Regions from separate parts of the Homo sapiens genome. Here region 2 is linked to region 1. The links are contacts of gene promoters, found by promoter capture Hi-C in human tissues and cell types (Jung and others, 2019). All regions are on one chromosome and are shown on one strand. Each heading gives the region's core, a stretch centred on a gene start or on the middle of the fragment in contact. The rest is flanking DNA. Distances are from core to core; before and after follow the strand shown. Region 1 holds the start of HIPK2 (homeodomain interacting protein kinase 2). Region 2 overlaps KDM7A (lysine demethylase 7A).

Evidence for each region. The method cuts DNA at HindIII sites, captures the fragments that hold promoters and counts their contacts. A contact is called where the count stands out against the background at its distance.
Region 2: a fragment that was not itself captured here is called in contact with the fragment with the promoter of HIPK2 in region 1 in 1 of the 25 tissues and cell types used here (IMR-90 fibroblasts).

The regions. Positions count from the first base shown.
Region 1 is chr7:139,776,748-139,781,426 of GRCh38, reverse strand. It overlaps HIPK2 (homeodomain interacting protein kinase 2), which reads left to right and starts at 3,429. Exons shown (of 15, transcript NM_022740.5): 1 at 3,429-3,822. The coding sequence starts at 3,804. It also overlaps a transcript of TBXAS1 not described here. RefSeq lists silencers at 3,084-3,313, 3,744-3,833. The HindIII fragment of the contact is 11,506 bases long and covers 127-4,679 here.
Region 2 is chr7:140,151,498-140,156,141 of GRCh38, reverse strand. The region is part of intron 1 of KDM7A (lysine demethylase 7A); the gene reads left to right. Among named protein-coding and RNA genes, the nearest start is that of KDM7A, 23 kb to the left of the region's middle. The HindIII fragment of the contact is 5,386 bases long and covers 318-4,644 here.

The DNA of each region.
Region 1 (4,679 bases), core at 2,180-4,679:
AGCTCTTTTTCCTCTTCCCATGTCTCAAATACTGGTACTCCCCAGGTTCTGTCACAGATCCTCTCTCCTCCCAGCTCCCATGCTCTCCTTCAGTGACATTTCACTGTTAGGTTTATACCTTGCTGCCACTTGACTGCAGTCACCGGAAGGAAAGGAGACAATTAGTATACTCAGTCTGCCAATTCATGAAGGAAAATCTAAGCTCATTTCAAGAATATTTTTCCGTTATATCATACGAACTTCGCTAGCTCAATTGAATGCATGTTTTGCATCTCATGGATACAGCTTCAGTCATGGTGGTCTGAAGAGAAGGTGGACCTCTGTCTGTATGGCTCCATCTTGTTCCCCTTCCATGGGACTCTATTTCCTTGCCCAAGATTGTTCCCTTCTTATGGGGAGGAGACTACCTGTAAAATGTTTTCGGTTGACACAAGTGATATTCATTTTAAGACTGCCTAGAATCACTCACTGCTAGACAGCAGCTGGGATGGACTTAGAGGCAGTTACTGAACACTGGTCAGTGCTGAATTCAGGGGCAGTCCTATAAAGCAGGGCCTTGCTCCAAGACGCTGCCAATCCAGTTATGAACACAGGGTACCTACACAGAAGACAAGAGTCAGCCATCTAGGGTGCGGGTATGCTGTGGACAACAGAGTGTGAGCAACAGGCAGGAAATGTTCTGTGAGCCTAAGGAAAGATGAGACAAAAGTCAGTGGGGCTGGTCAGAGGGAGGAGTTAGAATAATAATAACTTTTATTGAACCCCTACTATGTGTCTGCCCTCTATATAAAACTCTCTCTCTAATCTAACCCAGCCTCAGAGGCTGTGATGAGGACTATATGAAATGCCTTTTATCGAGTTTGTAGTGTTGTGCTGGACACAAGGGAGCATGCAACAAATTGCAGCTATCATCCATTCAACAAATATGTGTGCAGTACTCACCATGCGTTAGGCAATGCAGTTATTGGACATACAATCCAAAACAAGAAAAACATGGTTTCTGTCCTTACTGAGCTTACAGTCTAGAGACACCTTGTCCAAAATGGTAGCCACTAACCACCCATGGTTATTAAAATTAAAAATTCAGTTCCTCAGTCATACTAGCCACATTTCATGTGCTCCACAGACATAAGTAGCTACACTGCCATTATGGCAGCAAGTTCTAATGGCCAGCACTAGAAAGGGGCAGAGAGACATGCATGTAGGGTATGTATTAACAGGGAGTTACATACCTGTGTGGTGAAGGCTATGATAGAGATTTACAGATGCAAAAGGAGAACATTACTATTGTTCTCCTTCTCATAATCAAAATACAGACACTGAGGCTCAGAGAGGTTAAGCATTTTGACCAAGATCACATAGTTAAGTGGAAGAGCTAGGATTTGAACCTAGGTCTGACTTACTCCCACGCTATCTCGGGCTGTTTTGTGGAGGAGGTGAGCCAGGCACAGGTAGAATCTGCTTAAAGAGAGAAGATGGAGAAGGTACCCCTCTGGGAAAGTGGGTGGGAAAGTGACCGCTTGGGCAAAGGCACAGTGACAGAGATGGGTGAAGCTGGCACTGGGCTACAAGTAAACCAGTTTGGCTAGAGAAGCAGTGACTTGCTGAACTCATGTCCTTAGAAAGCTAAGTCAGGACTCGCCTGCCTTGATGAAAAGCCAAGGCACTCAGCCCCACCTGCAGAGGTTGAGTCCTTAGAGGATGTTAGCCAGGAGCGTGGCATGGCCAGAACCACGTATTATGAAGATGGCAATATTTAGGATGACCTGGGCCAAGACTAAAGTTAAAGATTGCAGGGAGGATAGAAGGGAAGGAGATAAATGACCGGTGTGGAGCAAAAAACACTAGAGTGGGAGCCACGAGACCTATTCCTAAGCTTCAATACTGTGTGACATTGGGCAACAGATTTTACTTCTCTGGACTCCATTTCTTCAACTCTAAAAGGGCAGGGCTGGCCCAGATGACCTCTGAGGTCCTTTTAGCAACAGTAGTCTAGGATTCTGCAAACGTGAATGGCATTAGGTTAAGAGAAGGGATAGGAAGTGTAGCATTGATTATGGGGGCAAGGAAGACCGCAGAGTACAAGATCACACAGAGGAAGGTGTCGTGATGTACCACTAAAAAAGTGTGAAAGAGCTTGCCTTTTTTGGGAAGGACTGAAGGATGGGAACGGAGGATGGAGACCGGAAAGGATAAGAAGTAGTGAGAAAATCACGAGGTTGTTTTTAAGAAAGTTATACAGTGTTAGAGATCATTATTTTACACAGATAGCTTTTCAACTTTTTTAAACCCACGATTCACAGACGGAAATAAAATTGACATCATGGTCCAGTACACTTGTCCAGTACCTATAATCGAAACAAAAGGTTTATGAAACAATAGTTGCCCTTACTAAGGGCAATGGACTCTAATATTTTCTATTGGATTCCATTTCGTTCTTTTTGAAAGCTGGTTGCCTTCCGCTGCATTTATTTTATGATCTATTACTGTGTCACGACCCACAGTTTTAAAAACAGTGCCTAAGAGGAGACTCAACAAGTCTTCCTAAGTTGGAGGGGATGGCAGGGCATCCTATCCAAGCATCCGGGAGGCAGCTGGAGAAGCAAACCTGGAGAGGCTCCCGGCTGGGGAGAGTCTGGAGAGTGTTTAGCGGAAGCCCTGATAGGAGAGAGCGCTGAGAAAAGCGAGGACCCAGAGAGTTGTGAGCTCCCATTCAAGTGATGGAGTGGCGGCCCTCGGGACAGTGTAGACGCGAGGAGGAGAAGATCAGGGTGGCGTGGAAGCCAGACTCCGGCAGGAACCCAGCGACCACCCCGGGGGCTGCATTTCCGCGGCGTGCACGGCAGGGCTTCGGTGCCTCTGACCTCGTGTGGCTTTCCGAAGCTCCTCCACTCACCCGCCCTCCTCCGGAGCACGGCGCGCGCCCACTCCTTCATTCATTCATTCCACTCCTACCTCCGCGAGCGCCAACCGGCTGTGAGATGGGCGAGCCACTTTGCCAGCGTGGGGCTCTCTTTCGGGTCGGTTCCCTCCCCGCCAGCACACGCGCGAACCCTCGCACCTGGGCACACACGCGCGCGCGTGCACACACACACACAAAGTTCTGGGGGCCCCTCTGCAGACCGGCTCGGCTGCGCTGGGCTCGGAGCCGTGCGCCCGCCGGGTCCAGGCCGGCCCTCTCACCCACTACCCGGGGCCCGCCCTGCGCCCAGTCCCCCCGCGCTGCGCGGCAGCCCCTCCCAGCGCGGTCCCCTCGGGCCGCCGGCGCGGCTCTGCCCTTCGGTTCGGCCTTCCCCGCCTCGCATCCGTGCCATCGGCGCTCGATTGCGCGCGGACTCCCTGTGGCTCTCCCGGCCCCGCGCCCCGCCCCCGCCCCCGCCCGCCGCCCCCCTCCGCCAGCAACTTTTGCGGAGCCCCCGCGCCCAGCCATGCTGAGCTGAGCCCCGCCGGCCCTGGCCGCGCGCTGCCCCCGGCTCCCGCCCCTCCGCGGATCCGCTCGGGGGCCGCGGCCGCTCGGCGCCTCGGCCTCGGCCGCTCCGCCCGCCCGGCCGCCCCGAGCCCCGAGCCCCGAGCCCCCCGCGCCGGGCCCGGGCGGCAGCGGCGGCGGCGGCGGCGGCGGCGCGCCCGGCCCCCTCCCCCGGCGCCGGCCACGGGAGGCGGTGATGCGGGCGCGGGCGGCCTCGGCTGCGCCGAGAGCGGAGACACAGGCTCAAGATGGCAGATTCCGACTGAGGCTGGGGGGGCCGAGCTCGCGCGCCGCTTTCCCGTCCCCGTTGCCATGAACCGCGGACACCCCGGCCCCGATGGCCCCCGTGTACGAAGGTAAGGGGCGCCCGGCCCCGCCGACCCCGCGCCCGCCGCCCTCCGCGGCCCCCGCAGCTTTGTTCTGCCCGCGGCCCCGCGCCCGCAGCCCCCGGCGCCTGCCCCAGCCCCCACCCGGGGCCCGAGGGGGCCGCGACCCCCTCCCTCGCCCGGAAGATGACCGGGACCCGGCGCCGGCAGGGTCTTGCTTCCAGGGCGGGGAGAGGGGCCGGGGGCGCAGGAGGGGAGGGGGCGTGTGCGAGGGTGGGCGGCTGCCCGGGGAGGGCAGGGACGCCGGGGAAGGCGGACCGGTGACTGTGCTTTTTATTTATTTGCGATAAATGAAGGTGATGCGGCTTAGCTTCCACCGCCCCCCCACATTACCTTTCGGAGCACCTCCTTTCCACTTCGCTCTCCGCCCCGCGCCCCTTCCCATTTCTTTCCGCGCCCACCCCACGCTCCTTTATTCTCCGCGAGCCTCCGATTTTGGGGGGGCTGTGGAATCGGAATGCACGGGGCTAGGTGGGGAGAGAGGAGAGAGATGAAAAGTCCATGTCAGAGCCAGGCAGAACAATGAAATAGGCGAAAATCTCCCCTCATTAGCGTGTGGAAGGGGACGTGGACTTTGGGTTTTCCAGCCGGGGGAGCGGCGGAGACGTTTTTCTGGCTCGGTCTGGGTCGATCTGTGTTGTGCACCTTCACCTGGCATCGGGGTATTTTTCCCCATTTGACTGCCTTTAGCAAGAAAGAAAAGAACGCAAGGCAGAAAAGCAGTAGGTCTGCCTCGCACACTGTCTTTCGTTTCTCTTCAGTCCGTTCTGTCAGCTTCCAGCCAGAAAGCAACCCAGAATCAACTAAGTTTTTACACTTCGATGTGT
Region 2 (4,644 bases), core at 1,761-4,260, 380 kb before region 1:
TGTTTGTTGCTGTCTTATTTCTCCCTTCCTTTAGAATCCCTTCTTTTTCAAAACACTAGAAACCTCCCATTATGGTAAGTAACCTTTAGCATGAAAACTGTTGCAACGAAGTGTTAACATTTCACAGATTAATTGGCATATAAGAAAACTAGCAACCACTTTACCATCGTTGGGGAATGATATGGTCTACATACATAAGATTTTCCTATAACTGATAGTTCTACTTGTGAAATGTAACTGTCCTCAGAAAAGTTACTCAGGAGATTAAACTGCTTTAAATAGTGTAGTATTCTTTCAAGAAGAGCATGTCTGTCAAAATCCTTCTAAAAATAGTTGGCATATAATTTTGTTGACTAAGTATCACGGACCTTAGTTATCTTCTGTGCCATGTGGGCTGCTGGACTGTTTGTGCACCAGATTGCCCCACACCAGTGGCCATTTATCGATGGTGTTTTATCTCCTTCCTTGCGATTCTTTTTTCCTGTTGCCTGTTAGTCTGCTTTGACCAGTTCCCACTGTCTCCTAATTTTGTTTTCTTAACTAGAGCAAAACAAGATGTCCACATGGGATTAGGCAACAGGTCTTCTTAAATTGCCCACTCCGTATTCTGATACACTGGTGACAAAAGGATGACCCTAGCCAGGAATGGAGTCAAGCTGTGCAAAAGGGATTTGGCAAATATCACTTAAATAAACCTGGCAGTCAGGGTTGGAATTTTTGAAATCAGAGTGCTTGTGGTGCTAGATTATACCTTTGAATTCTTACCCTAGGATAGAAGCTATGCCTGGTGGGTAAAGGTAGCCCTGGCTTCCAGGTAATCTTATCTAGAAGAAAATCATATGGCTGGCTTAGAGATATGTTATATCTTGCTTCTTATGTAGGTCTTGTATTTTGATCTACATAAGAAGATTTGACTCAGTCATTAGACTTCAGCCTAGAAAGTGCCTTACAAATACTTGTTAATTATGTTGTAATAAGGGTAATTGGAGACAAACAATTTGTTTGTTTCTTTTGAGGTTAAAAAGATAGTTTTAGAAAGTTTTAGTGTATGATCAGTTATTGACTTCTTTGGTTCATATGTATTCATTAACGTGCTTTGTTAGTAGTCAGTAAATGCTTGGTAATGCTGTCACCATTTTAGTCTCCTGTGTTGATAAAGGGGTGGTTTTACTATACACTTGGTTTATTGGTACTTTGTACCAATTGTAAAATTGCAAAACATTAAAAATGTTTTAATTTTGTAAATTTAAATCATAAAGTTGTAACACTTATAATTATAAAAACAAATTTATAATAAACTCTTCATAGCTGATGAGTCTGAAAATTAGCTTCTAAGGCAATTTTCCAAGGTGGAAAATAATAACCCATGAAGTGTTTTGTGGGGAAAAAAAAAGGGAGAGAGAGAGAGAAAGACCCGAGGTTGGGTACAGTATTTATCACTTATGCTTGATCCCCATCATGGAAATTGAAAGTGCTTGTTAACTTGTTAAATTCACTGAGAAGTATTGCTGGTAAATGAAGGTGATTCGATCTCAGCCCAGTGTCTCCCTTATGTTTCTCTTACGAACTGTGGAATCTTTTTGTGAATAACTTTGACTCCTGCAGGACACTGTTTTTTGTCTTTTTTTTTTTTTTTTTTTTTAATTTTAAGAGACAGAGTCTTACTTTGTCTCCCAGGCTGGAGTGCAGCGGTGCAGTCAGCTCACTACAGCCTCAAACTCCCGGGCTCAAGCAGTCTTCCCACCTTAGCGTCCTGAGTAGCTGGGGCTACAGGTACATGCCACCATACCTGGCTAATTTTTAAAAACTTTTTTTTTTTTTGTAGTGACGGGGGTCTCATTATGCCCAGGCTGGTCTTGAACTTCTGGCTTCAAGAAGTCCTCCCGCCTTAGCCTCCCAAAGTGCTGGGTTTTTAGACATGAGCTACTGTGCCTGTCCAGGACACTTTTAAAAAAAATGTTTTTTAAGGGAATGCTGTAGAGCCAGTCCTTGCTTTGCAGGGTTCTGGTGTGCACTGATTTCAGTTACCATTAGATAACAACACTAGTCACCCAGGATTCAAATTTCAGTCACCATGGTGTGTTACCTATGAATGCATAAGTACAGACTCTTCAGTATGCAGATCAGAAATCACTGCAAAAATAACAGGCACGCGTCTGTTCTTCAGTTTACACGCAGACAGGAGAGCATGTTTTGCTGCCTCCTTGCCTCTCAGTAATAAACTTACATGACCTATTAGCAAAATAGATAATCGAAAGTGGGAAGTGGCCAGTAAAAATGAAAGAGCAACAAAGAAACAAAAAATGATAACTCTGGAAGTAAAATCCAATTGAGCATAAATGGAGTAATAAAATAAGTAACTGACAGTGGGAACGCTGCCACTGCCGCCATTTGCGGAACTCTAGACAGGCAGCCAGAGGCACTTAGTGAAGGCATGCTAAATGGCATAATGTTTTAAATTATAGTGTACTAAAGAAGTATTAGTTTTACTGTTTTTTCATTTCTCTGTACATTATAACCAACAGTAAGAGAGTTCTTAATGCTTTGACAAACATTTTTAAAGTTCACCAGAACAATTGTGATTTCCCCCATTGATTATTAAAATCACTTGGCATGATTTCAGCTTGTGTGATTACTTTTTTTTTTTTTTCTTTTTGAGACGGAGTCTCGCTCTGTCGCCCAGGCTGGAGTGCACTGGCGTGATCTCGGCTCACTGCAAGCTCCGTCTCCTGGGTTCACGCCATTCTCCTGCCTCAGCCTCCTGAGTAGCTGGGACTACAGGTGCCTGCCACCACGCCCAGCTAGTTTTTTGTATTTTCAGTAGAGACGGGTTTCACTGTGTTAGCCAGGATGGTCTCAATCTCCTGACCTCGTGATCCGCCCGCCTCGGCCTCACGCATGGTTACTTTTATGGTCCTGCACTACCATGCAAAGTAAGGACCGCCTATATTTTCCTTACATTTGCCTGTCATCGATCACGTGACCTTTAGTGGAAATTAAGAATTACAAAATGGCCAGCACTTTGGGAGGCCGAGGTGGGCGGATCACGAGGTCAGGAGATCGAGACCTTCCTGGCCAACATGATGAAACCCTGTCTCTACTAAAAATACAAAAATTAGCTGGGTGTGGTGGCGCGTGCCTGTATTCCCAGCTACTCGGGAGGCTGAGGCACAAGAATCGCTTGAACCCAGGAGGCAGAGGTTGCAGTGAGCTGAGATGGTGCCATTGCACTCCAGCCTGGTGACAGAGCGAGACCCCGTCTCAAAAAAAAGGAATTACAAAATGGACTTTGAGGAACCTATAATGACAAATTATCTTTTGAAGGGATCCAACATGTGAATAGGTTAAAAATCCTTCTTACACTTTATGTACTTTACATATTGCCCTGACTTGTATGTTTCGAAATAGAATGGTCCAGTGCTTGCTGTTGACCTTTCCTGGCAACTCAGCGTCACCTATTTTGCTATTGATGGATACTTCTGATTTGTAATTGTGTTGGATTTCTTTTTTTTTTTTTTGAAACGGAGTCTCACTCTCGCCCAGGCTGGAGTGCAGTGGGATGATCTCAGCTCACACTGTAACCTCCGCCTCCCGGGATCAAGTGATTCTCACGCCTCAGCCTCCCAAGTAGCTGGAATTAAAAGTGTGTCCCACCACGGCCAGCTAACTTTTGTATTTTTAGTAGAGTTGGGTTTTGCCTTGTCGCCCAGGCTGGTCTTGAACTGCTGGCCTCAAGCAATCCATCCTCCTTGGCCTCCCAGAGTGCTAGGATTCCAGGTGTGGGCCACCACTTCTGGCCATGTATTAAAATTCTTTGAGGTCTCTGGGTCATATATAAATTTCCACGTAGGATGTTGTTACCAGTTATGTCAAGATTTTTGTGGTTCAGACCCCTACTGTAACTCGTCTTTCATCAAGAATGAAAAAGCATACTAAGGATATTAAGTTCTCCTTAGAATGTTGCCTTAGTTTCTGTTCCAGCAGAGAGGCCTTTAATATGAATGCTTTCTCTTGGCTTGGCTTGGTTTGGAATGTGTTTATTCCCCTTAGATGCAGGCACTGAAGACTATTTATGAGATGAGAAAGGTTAGTAGGAAAACTAGATCTACTTGATTTGCCTTAGTTGACTCTTGTCCATTGTAGTTGATTCATCACTAAGTGTCCTAGATATATGTTTTTGCTATTATCTTTTATCCCAAGGTATGATCTTTTATTCCTGTATATATTCAATCTTCTGTAGGTTTCATTAGGCCCTAGAAAATATAGCTTTCCCTTCTGTACTTGCAATGGGAAATAAAACTGTCTGCTGGATTGGAGAGTTTCAGATGCTTATTCATTCATCTTTTAAAGATCCTATTTATTTCATTTATAATCCATTTGTCTTCTTCTTTTACTGACATTCCAAATGTCAGATTAAGATAGGGACATTTAGGAACTACATGAAAGGAAAAGTAAATGGGCATAATATATACATTTGTGATGAATGAAGACCTTTTTTCCTGTACAAGAGGATTATAGTTGCCTGAACCTAAATAATCAGGAATACTGTGTCCTTTTTCATTGAAAAAGGTATGGACATTTCAGAATAAATTCTTGAAAGAAAAAAATAATCAGTTCTGTACTTTCCCCCTCACATTCATTTTC